Linked DNA regions of Homo sapiens: region 1 is linked to region 2. The links are contacts of gene promoters, found by promoter capture Hi-C in blood cells and fetal thymus (Javierre and others, 2016). All regions are on one chromosome and are shown on one strand. Each heading gives the region's core, a stretch centred on a gene start or on the middle of the fragment in contact. The rest is flanking DNA. Distances are from core to core; before and after follow the strand shown. Region 1 overlaps NPHP1 (nephrocystin 1). Region 2 holds the start of GCC2 (GRIP and coiled-coil domain containing 2).

The links. Contacts are between HindIII fragments. The CHiCAGO score rates a contact against its expected background, and 5 or more counts as called.
Region 1: a contact is called between a fragment that was not itself captured here and the fragment with the promoter of GCC2 in region 2, in 1 of 17 cell types (naive CD8 T cells). The highest score is 6.2, in naive CD8 T cells.

The regions. Positions count from the first base shown.
Region 1 is chr2:110,198,575-110,203,978 of GRCh38, reverse strand. It overlaps NPHP1 (nephrocystin 1), which reads left to right. Exons shown (of 20, transcript NM_001128178.3): 2 at 2,485-2,558. Among named protein-coding and RNA genes, the nearest start is that of NPHP1, 3.7 kb to the left of the region's middle. The HindIII fragment of the contact is 2,997 bases long and covers 2,585-5,404 here.
Region 2 is chr2:108,446,474-108,451,508 of GRCh38, reverse strand. It overlaps GCC2 (GRIP and coiled-coil domain containing 2), which reads right to left and starts at 2,303. Exons shown (of 23, transcript NM_181453.4): 1 at 2,229-2,303; 2 at 1,820-1,876; 3 at 397-481. The coding sequence starts at 2,234. RefSeq lists enhancers at 312-812, 813-1,313, 1,399-2,380, 2,217-2,476, 2,381-3,363. The HindIII fragment of the contact is 5,578 bases long and covers 1,325-5,035 here.

The DNA of each region.
Region 1 (5,404 bases), core at 2,834-5,333, 1.8 Mb before region 2:
TATTATGATTTTCTTTATTCTTTTTCATATTTATAAAAATTTTTAGGCCAGGTGTGGTGGCTCATGCTAGTAGTACCAGCTACTTGGGAGGCTGAGACAGGAGGATCACCTGAGCCCAGGAGTTCGAGACTAGCCTGGGCAACATAACAAGACTTGGTCTCAAAAAAAAAAAAACTTTTTAAAAATACACTGAGTTCTTATTAAAAATAAGAAAAAAGTAAATAGCAACCAGTGGGTTTATTTTCTGACATTTTAATTTCACTTTAATTTTTTTCATGTGATCTATTACCAAGTATTTTTCCACTGAGTAAAATTATTTTATAATCTGAGGCCGGTAAGAGATTCACTGATGCTCATATTTTATCCATTTTTGTTCTCTTGTTTAAAGTAAAAAGGATTTGGAAGGTAAATATTTAGGTGACTGTGTATTGGAATCACAGTGGTGCAACAAAAGCTAAATACTCTTCTGGTAGAAATAAAAAATAAAACTTGATGGGGCATTGACTTATGCTGAACTTCGGTGGATCTTAATATGGTTCTGTGTCTTATTTTAAAATTTCAACTTTTATTTTAGATTCAGGGGGTACATGTGCAGGTCTGTCACATGGGAACACTGTGTTATGCTGAGGTTTGGGGTACAGATGAGCCTATCACACAAGCAGTGAGCACAGTACCCAATAGGCAGTCTTTCAGTCTTCATTCCTCTTCCCTCCCCCACCCCACTCCAGCAGTCACCAGTGTCCATTGCTCCCATCTTTATGTCCATGTGTACTCAACGAGTGAGAACATATGGTATTTGGTTTTCTGTTCCTATGCTAATTCACTTAGGACAATGGCCTCCAGCTCCATCCATGTTGCTGCAAAGGACATGATTTCATTCTTTTTTATGGTTGCATATTTTTTCATGGTGTATATGTACCACATTTTCTTTATCCAGTCCACCATTGGTGGGCATCTATGTTGATTCCATGTCTTTGCTATTGTGAATAGTGCTGTAGGGAACATACACATGCATGTGACATTTTGGTAGAATCATTTCTTTTTTGGGGGTATATACACGGAAATGGGATTTCTGGGTCAAATGATAGTTCTGTTTTACGTTGTTTGGGAAATCTCCAAACTGCTTTCCACAGTGGCTGAACTAATTTTCATGCCCACCAACAGTGTATATGTGTACTCTTTTCTTGTCAGCCTCACCAGAATCTGTCATTTCTTGATTTTTTAATAATAGCCATTTTGACCAGTGTGAGATGGTACCTCATTGTAGTTTTAATTTGCATTTCTCTGATGATTAGTCATGATGAGTTAATTTTAAATTTAGTGGGACATTAGGAGAACCAGGAAAAGTTTTAGAAGGAAACTATAAAAATGATTATTAAAACAAACTATTAGAAAGATTATTCTCCCTGGAGAAATATTGGCTCTGGAGCCTTTTGATACCTTGACTATCTGGAAAGTTTGTTTTGATAGTATTAGCTAATTCTTCCCTGTCTTCACAGAGGACACCTGAAGCTGAATATGGAACAGATTTTCTATTCGGTGTCTGTAGGACAAGTAATCAACAGCCCCTCTGAGTCAGGCCTGTGATGACTGGCTCTATCACTAGGTGTGTGAATTTTGTAAATAACACTCAGATGGATGCCAAATTGCAAGAGTAGAGAAGAAACTAATGGAATTTTCTCTTTTTTCATCCACTTTATCTTCTCTACGTAATCTATAGAAAACAGACCAAAGAAGTATGTGCCTTTTTGGAGAGTATATTGACAAAGTTACATATAGTGTTAGTAAACAAACTACTAAGTCAAGAGAAACAAAGTCATGATACATTCAATACAATGGATACCACTCAGTAATGAGAAGGAATGAACTAATGGTACACACAACAATATGGAAGTATCTCAAAAACATGCTTTGTGGAAAGGTTACACAAGAGTGCTTACTGTATGAGTCCATTTATATAAAATTTCAAGAACAGGCAAAACTAATTTATGTTGGAAAAATATCAAAACAGGTTTGTCTGTGGAGGAATAAGGAGGGGATTTACTGGCAAGGGCATGAGGGAACTTACTAGGGTGATGGTAGTTTTCTACATCTTGATAAGAATTTTGGTTACACAGATGTATGCATTTGTCGAAACTCAGCAAATGTATGCCTCGTATTTGTGCATTTCACTATATACATATTTTACATCAACTATTGAACTTTAGTTAGTGACATCCATAGTCCATTATTTAGGGAGAAATGTATTGATAACTGCAACTTACTTTGAAAGGCATAAGGTGGGTTGACGGATAGATCAAATAAGTATAGTATAATGTTAATGTTTTTTCTAGGTAGCGGGTATATGGGTTTTCACTGTAAAATTTTTAAAACTTTGTTGTATGTTTAAAAGTGTTCATTATAAAATATTGGATAAAAAAAGAAGTTTTCTTTCCTAAGGCGATATGGTATTTAATAATGTGATATTTTAAATGGTCTCCATAGGTTGATAGTTTGCTTTCTGAGAGCCAACTGAAAGAAGCTCTAGAACCCAATAAAAGACAACATATTTATCAAAGGTAAAGTATGCTAAATTATATAAGCTTTACAGGAACCGCACTTACATTTCAATGCATAGTATTTAAGGCATAGAGATTGGTCCTTTGGAATCAAATGGAAGAATCACATAGTGTTGTAAGTTGAATGTAGAAGAAACCAACCTAAACCTGATGGTTGCGGACTTGCTGTTGTGACAGCAACTATAAAAACTGCTTAATGTAAACATAGGTGACATGGGCAGGATTACCCTAAATCCTTAGCCTATGTAGCCCAGATCCTGTGACCTGGTCAGAAACCTCTGTCTATAAGCAATTAGTACTTCATTGGGATGTCAACTTTAACTCCCATGAGAAGACAACACTGTTTTCTAGGTGGGTGTTTTTTGTTTTGTATTTGTTTTTACTTAAAAAAAAATCCTTGGGAGAGTTTAAATAGACGTGATGAACTACATCAAATTTAGACTATTAATTCATAACATTTGTATTAAGTTTAGGACATCATTAAGATAATCTTTGTTTTTGAGATATTTAAGGATTTTATTACATTCCAAAGAACATGAGATTCATTCTATTAATTTAAGTGAATTGTAATTGTTTGGAGAAGTTTTACTTAAGTCAGGCATTCAGAGTGCTTAAAGGCAAAACAAATGAATTTTGAAATGTCAAATGAATTTAATTTATAATAGTAGGATTGATTAAGGGATTTAGTTCAAGCTGAATTAACAGTAATGAAAGAAAAGCAAAGGTTATTGTTCTTGCTTTACTAGATTTAAAAACAGAGTAAGATTTATAGACTGAATTTGAAGGCCAAGGGAAAACTACGTTTTTAAATTTTATGTTAGTAAACTAAAAATCATAATTATTATTATTTTATTTTTTGAGACTAAATCTCACTCTGTCACCCAGGCTGGAGTGCAGTGGCGCAATCTCGGCTCATTGCAACCTGCACCTCCCAGGTTCAAGCGATTCTTCTGCCTCAGGCTCTTGAGTAGTTGGGATTACAGTCGTGCCCCACCACACCTGGCTGGATTTTGTATTTTGAGTAGAGATGGGTTTCATCACGTTGGCCAGGCTGGTTTCGAACTCCTGACCTCAAGGGATCCCCCAGCCTTGGCCTCCCAAAGTGCTGGGATTATAGGTGTGAGCCACTGTGCCCAGCCTAATAATTGTTATGTTTTATTTTTTTTGAGATAGAGTCTCTCTCTGTCGCCCAGGCTGGAGTGCAGTGGCATGATCTCGGCTCACTGCAAGCTCCACCTCCCAGGTTCAAGCGATTCTCCTGCCTCAGCCTCCCGAGTAGCTGGGATTACAGGTGCCCGCCACCATGCCTGGCTAATTTTTTGTATTTTTAGTAGAGATGGGGTTTCACCGTGCTAGCCAGGATGGTCTCAATCTCCTGACCTCATGCCCCCTGCTTTGGCCTCCCAAAGTGCTGGGATTATAGGCGTGAGCCACCGCGCCCGGCCCCTAATAATTATTTTTAAGCCCAAGTAACCATAGTCTTCTCTGTGCATGAAAAGAAGATTGTTACTGTCATTTAAAAACTCACTTTGACATTTGCATATCTGAAAATGTCATTTAGGTATCATTTTTATCTGCTCAGTGCTCTGAGTCTTTTCAGTTTGAAAACTCATGTCTCATGAGCTCTGGGAGATTTTATTTTACAAAAAGATTATTTCGTTAATTCCATTTGTCTGTTTCTTCCTGAAACACCTTTGAGTCAGGTATTGGATATCCTGGACTGATCCTCTATATCCCATAACTTCCTGTTAATAGTTTCTGTTTCTTTGTTTGTATGGGAGATGTTTTTTTGGGGGGATGTGGGGGGTCTCACTCTGTCGTTCAGGCTGTAATGAAGTGGCACAATCATGGCTCACTGCACCTTCTGCCTCCCAGGCTCAAGGGATGCCCCCCTCCCCCGCCACGAGCTACCATGCTAGCAATTCTCTTGACTTTAACACTTTTCTTTATTACCTATTTCAACAGCCATATTGTTTTATTTCAGCAGTCATATTGGTTTTTTTTTTTTTAAGATGGAGTCTCACTCTGTCATGATCTTGGCTCACTGCAACCTCTGCCTCCTGGGTTCAAGCGATTCTCCTGCCTTAGCCTTCTGAGTAGCTGGGATTACAGGCTCACGCCATCACACTCGGCTAATTTTTTGTATTTTTAGTAGAGACGGAGTTTCACCATGTTGGCCAGGCTGCTCTCAAACTCCCGACTTCAGGTGATCCACCCATCATGGCCTCCCAAAGTGCTGGGATTACGTGAGCCACCGTGCCTGGCCATCATCAGTCATGTTGTTAATTTACAAGTGTTTTCTCTTGTTCTCGAATTGTTCTTTTTTCATAGCATCATGTTCCTGTTTTCATATTGATTGCCTTCTTACTACTTCCATGACTAGGAGGCTTTTTTTTTCTCCTTAAGTTCTCTTCTGTTCTCTGAATTGTCTTTGCTTTCTCTGGGCTCAGATTCCTTTTAATTAGTTAATTAATTAATTTATATTTGGTTATTCTTAAATTTTATCTTCACGTTGCCGGTTTTCTTTATTAGGTCTGGCTTATCTATTTTTATTGAACAATGAGGGACTAGGTTGATTATTCCAGAGAGCTCTCATGGGCTTTTCTACTGTTAGATAGAGAGGGGTCCTTCCTGCTAGTACCATCCCCTGAATAAGAATGAAATTTTGTATGTTGATAGGGCTTATCAGAGGCTCGGAAGTAGCTTTTAGTCTGAGGATCCCCCAGTGCCAGAATAGGGCCGGCTCTAACCCTGGTGTATGGGAAACTTCTTTAGCAGTCATGATTCTCTTCAGGTCGTTTGTTAATTGTTTTTGTTTGTTTTTTTGTTTTTAGGGAAGAATCCCC
Region 2 (5,035 bases), core at 1,054-3,553:
TCTTTTATTATTTTAATTGAGGAAGCTTTCCATCTCTTTGGGCTTATCTTCTGTCTCTAACATTTCAACTGACTTCTCTTGAAAAAACACTTTACTCAGAACTCAGAAGAATCTAAAGTCTACATGAAGGAAAAACACACTTAACTTACACAAACTTTAAAAATCCTCCTCCCTGACTTTAACAACTCAAAAGTCACTGTGGTTTAGAGATGTGGGAATAATTTAGAAATCAGAGGTAAATTTTTAGAATGTTAAATAACAGATTCTACTACACTAAGGTGTACTTGGAATCACTGGAAAACAAACAAAAACAAGCCAATGCATTATTTTAAAAACTACCATTTTAAACCACGATTAAAGAGACTGTGATCAAGATGAGTATTTTCAACCCAATACCTGTACACCTTGATTTAGCTTTCTGTATTAGCATCATCTGTTTCTTGGCAAACTTGATGAGGTCTTCTTTGGGCAATGTTTCCAGCTGAAAGATGTGGTCATGTTACCAACTTGTTATAACTCATGTTTCTAGTATACCACAAAAAAGAAACAATGTCTGCTAGAAAACAAAAACATTCTACAGAATAAATCTTTATGCCAACCGCATACTTTGTTCCACATTTTTTTTTTGAGACAGAGTCTCGCTCTATTGCCCAGGCCGGAGTGCATGACACGATCTTGGCTCACTTGTAACCTCTGCCTCCCAAGTTCAAGCAATTCTCCTGTCTCAGCCTCCCAAATAGCTGGGATCATAGGCGCCCGCTACCACGTCCGGCTAATTTTTGTATTTTTAGTAGAGACGGGGTTTCACCATGTTGGCCAGGCTGGTCTCAAACTCCTGACCGCAGGTGATCTGCCCGCCTCGGCCTCCCAAAGTGTTGGGATTACAGGCGTGACCCACCGCGCCCGGCCACATTTTTTAAAATCAGCAAATGCAACGTCAATTCTGTAATTGCTATGCAACTACTAAAAATTAGTTATGCAACTACTATGAAACGTAAAAACCAGGCCATATCCTCTTATAGCTAATGTTACAGGTTGACATTGCTAGCTTTTGATTTAATTGTAAAATCAGTAGGTTGGAGCTAATGCTACTTAAAATTCCTTGGAGCTGTAAAATTATTTCATTCTATTCAAGGCTGCAAGTCTTTGGTCACAAGAAAATTTACGCATAATTACAGCAGCAAGATGAACCGGGTAACATTCAGGCTTTAATTAAAAAATTGAGCTTTACCACTTGAGAAAATTGCTTAAGCCTGTGGTCTCAGGTTTCTCATCTGTAAAAGGAGGGTAACAACAGTACCTATCTCATGGTTATCATGAAGCTTAAACGAAGGAACTGAGTGGTTAGGCAAGCGCCAGAAATTTAGCATGCACACAATAAACCTTAGCAATAAACCACTATCATTTAGAATGATTGAATGTTAAACATTGTACAGGGCCATAAAACTGGACTAATTAAACTCTTTGGCAATGTAGAAACTGGAGCCCACAGATCAGAATCCCTTGATTCCTACCCTATGTCACTGCTCCTTCCACTACACCACTATATAAACCTTCTTAGACTGCTTTATGTTCGAAAAATAGCAGGATCTCCCAGCAGTGCTAACCAGGAGCAGGAAGCAAACAAAAAGTCTTTCTATATCGGGGTGGGCGGGGGAGAAACAGGAAATGGGCGATTGCGCACACTAAAATTGAGATCCCTTGGAGCAAGGCTATTAAAAAAAAAAAAATCAGCGCCCCCCCCTTCCCCATGCCAAAGTTTTCCAATTCATCACCCTTCCACTCTTCAGGAAGCCCGCTATTCAAGTATTCTCTTCACCTTAGATTTCCCGGTCCCAGGGGTAGCTGGTGAAGCCACCCCATCTTGAACAAGATCCTGCAAAACAAAATCAAACCCAGGTGTCAGAAGAACTCTTTTCCTAATTCCACACGGAACGCGTAGAACCCTTACAGGGAAAAACCTTCTATGGAATCAAGTGGTGGAAAGCCTCGTGAGACAGAGAATGAGGGCGGACGGAGGCGGTCGCTGTGGCAATTCGTACACAAACGGGCTCTACGGGGCAGGTAACCCCCAGGGATAGAGTTTACGAAAGATGGGGAGGCGACAGCAGCGCGGGCTTCGGGACACCAAGAGGGAGACTACCGCGCCCTCCCATCGGGCCCACTCCCACATCCCAAATCGCGGCGCGGAAGGCTTGATGGGAGGCAGTGGGCCCGACCTGAGTTACCTCCATCTCCGCCAGCCCGCCGCCGGCCCGCAACCAGCCGCCGCCACCGCTGCACTTCTGTTTGCGCCAGCCTCTGACGTAGGCTCTACTGCAGGTCAAAGGTCGCGCTCTCCGGGCGGCCCGCCCCCCACGTCTCCATAGCTACAGCTCGGCAGCACTTCCGCTTCCGTGTCTGCGTCCGGGAGAAGGTTCCCCGTACGGCGCTAAGGGCGGAGTCCGTCTAGACGTTCTACCTGGGGCTCGACCCCTGGGCCTGCAGGTCACGGAGTAGGTGTGGGTCCCGCCACTGCCGGTTATTGGCATGGGAAGGCGGGCCGATTACCCCTTGGGGCCTCGGGCCTCGGTTTCCACGTCTGTAAAATCTTGTGAGAGTGAGGAACATTGGATTGCAGGACAGGTCTCTCAGTCCTCCAAAGGTGTCCGCTAGCCTGCGAGTGCCTGCGGGACCCACAGCTGGTTCCGGGGGGCTCCTTAGGCATTTGTGGCCAGCATGGTGCCCGGGAGCTCCGTGACTCACAGGTCAGGGATGCGGTAGAGGGCTTCCCTGAGGAGGCATTTCTTGACTCTGGAGGCTGTGAGGAGGTCCCTGGACAGCTCTGCCCTGCAGCCGCCCGGTACTGATGGTGATGTGGTGGAGGCAAGATAGTCGGCCAGGGAACTGGGCAGCCGTGGGAGGAGACTCTGTAGAGTAGGGGGCCCGAGGCCACCCTTTCCCGAAGGGCACGCCAGAGAATCTGTGGTCGAATCCCAGAGCTGCTGCTGTGTCCTGATTGGCGGTCCAGTGCTCTGAGAGCCTTTCTGTTAACTGCTGAAGTGGTTTGCTGCGCTTTCACCTTCCCATTAATGTTTTCCATACACTCCCATAACTAAGGTAACCTGAAGATAACCTAGTTTCCTGTAGTTTAAATGGTCAAAAGGTTGAAGAGGCAGCACACAGTATGTATCGAGTAAATGGTAGCTGATTATTACTAGGTAAAAGAAGTGTTATAAACGAGAAAGAACAGCTATTGTGGACATCTACTCTTTGTCTTTGACAGTGTGTATCACCTATGGTGTTTGTAGGATTGGTTCAGGGGTGGTGTGTGACCTAAGATGTACAGTCTCCACGTACAGTAACACACGTGTGTGTGTACACGTGTGTGTGTACACGTGTGTGTGTGCACGTGTGTGTGTGCACGTGTGCGCGCACGTGTGTGTGCACGTGTGTGTACACACATATATGCACACACATGTATACACACACACACACACAATCCCCAAGTATACATTGTTATTAATGGTCCAGATTAATGCCATTCAAAGTAGTTCCCCAAGTTAAGAGCAACTTACGGTAGACTCCTATTTCAATTAATAACTTGAAAAAATCACTTGCAATAAAATAGCAGGTTAACTAGATACTACACACATTCCAATCCTGTAAAAGTTTCTCAGAGAAACACTGTTAGATATAGTTACATTCCAGGAGTTTGGCTACATCAATAGCTACAGAAGAGTTGATGTTCTCACAGTAGAACTCTCTTTTTCTCATACTTGAAATAAAAAAGAACCTTTCTTTTCTTCCTTTGATCTTTCTTCCCTCGCCAGCCCTCCATTGCACTTGGCTGGGTAACAGGGTCCATGAGTTGCAGCTACAGGTAGGGCAGCGTCTCCTGGGAATCCCCAGGGAGATGAGGGTCAGCACACCCCTAAGCTCCAGGTCATCAGCGGCCTCCTCACACAGCTCGAGCTCACCCCCATCTGCCTTCCTGGTTGTCATTGGACAGGAATTTTATTTTCTGAGATGATGGAGGCAGGTATAATGTTCTTGACCATCGGATACCTTCTGTTGTTGTTCCTCTTAAGGAAGAAATCATTTATTTCTTCCTTCACTAGTTATAGTAAGTGCTGAAATCTTCTAAATATATTTATCATCTTTCATACTTTAAAGAATGAATATTTATGAATTGATTGTGAGTACTCTGAGATCTTCTGATATTCATAAACCTATAGGAAAGATCTGCTTTATATTTCACATTCTCTGGACTGCAGATAAGTTCACATTTTAAAGATGTATATTACCTTAATGAGCAGAACTATGACCTGTTTAACGAATATGTTTCTTTCCAATTGTAAAAGTAACACAGGTTCATTGTAGAACACCTGGAAAATATAGGAAAATTCCGAAAAGAAAATAAAAATCACCTTGAATCATTTATGGAAATAGAAAATAGGAACAATGTTAATAACAATGTCAATAATATGTGCTGTGCTGGTCACATTGTATAGTAGATGGAGACTGCTGTATGTTAACCAGCACTACTGAAACATAATATAATTTGAGCAAGTTGCAGGGTCTTGCCTAAGTAAAAATAGCTTCTTTACCAGTTTGGAATGGTGCCAACATGCCATTATCTCCTGAAGAGCCACATTAAAAGGCACCTGTTGCTTAGGGATGGTCCGGAGAGACACCTGATCTTTTTTTGTTAGTTCGCTAGCAAGTTTTATTTCAGAAAAATCAATCCTTGGCTCTTCAGTGCTTTGATTATAACTCTTAAGGTAAGCATGGAAAAACTACATTTACATTGTATTTTTTTTTCTTTCTTCTCCTTTTTTTTTTTTTTTTTTTTTCAGACAGGTCTTGCTTTGTCATCCAGGCTGGAGTGCAGTGGCATGATCTTGGCTCACTGCAACCTCTGCCTCTTGGGTTCAAGTGATTCTCCCGCCTCAGCCTCCCGAGTAGCGGGGACTACAGGCAAGTGCCACCACATCTGGATAATTTTTGTATTTTTAGTAGAGACAAGGTTTCACCATCTTGGCCAGGCTGGTCT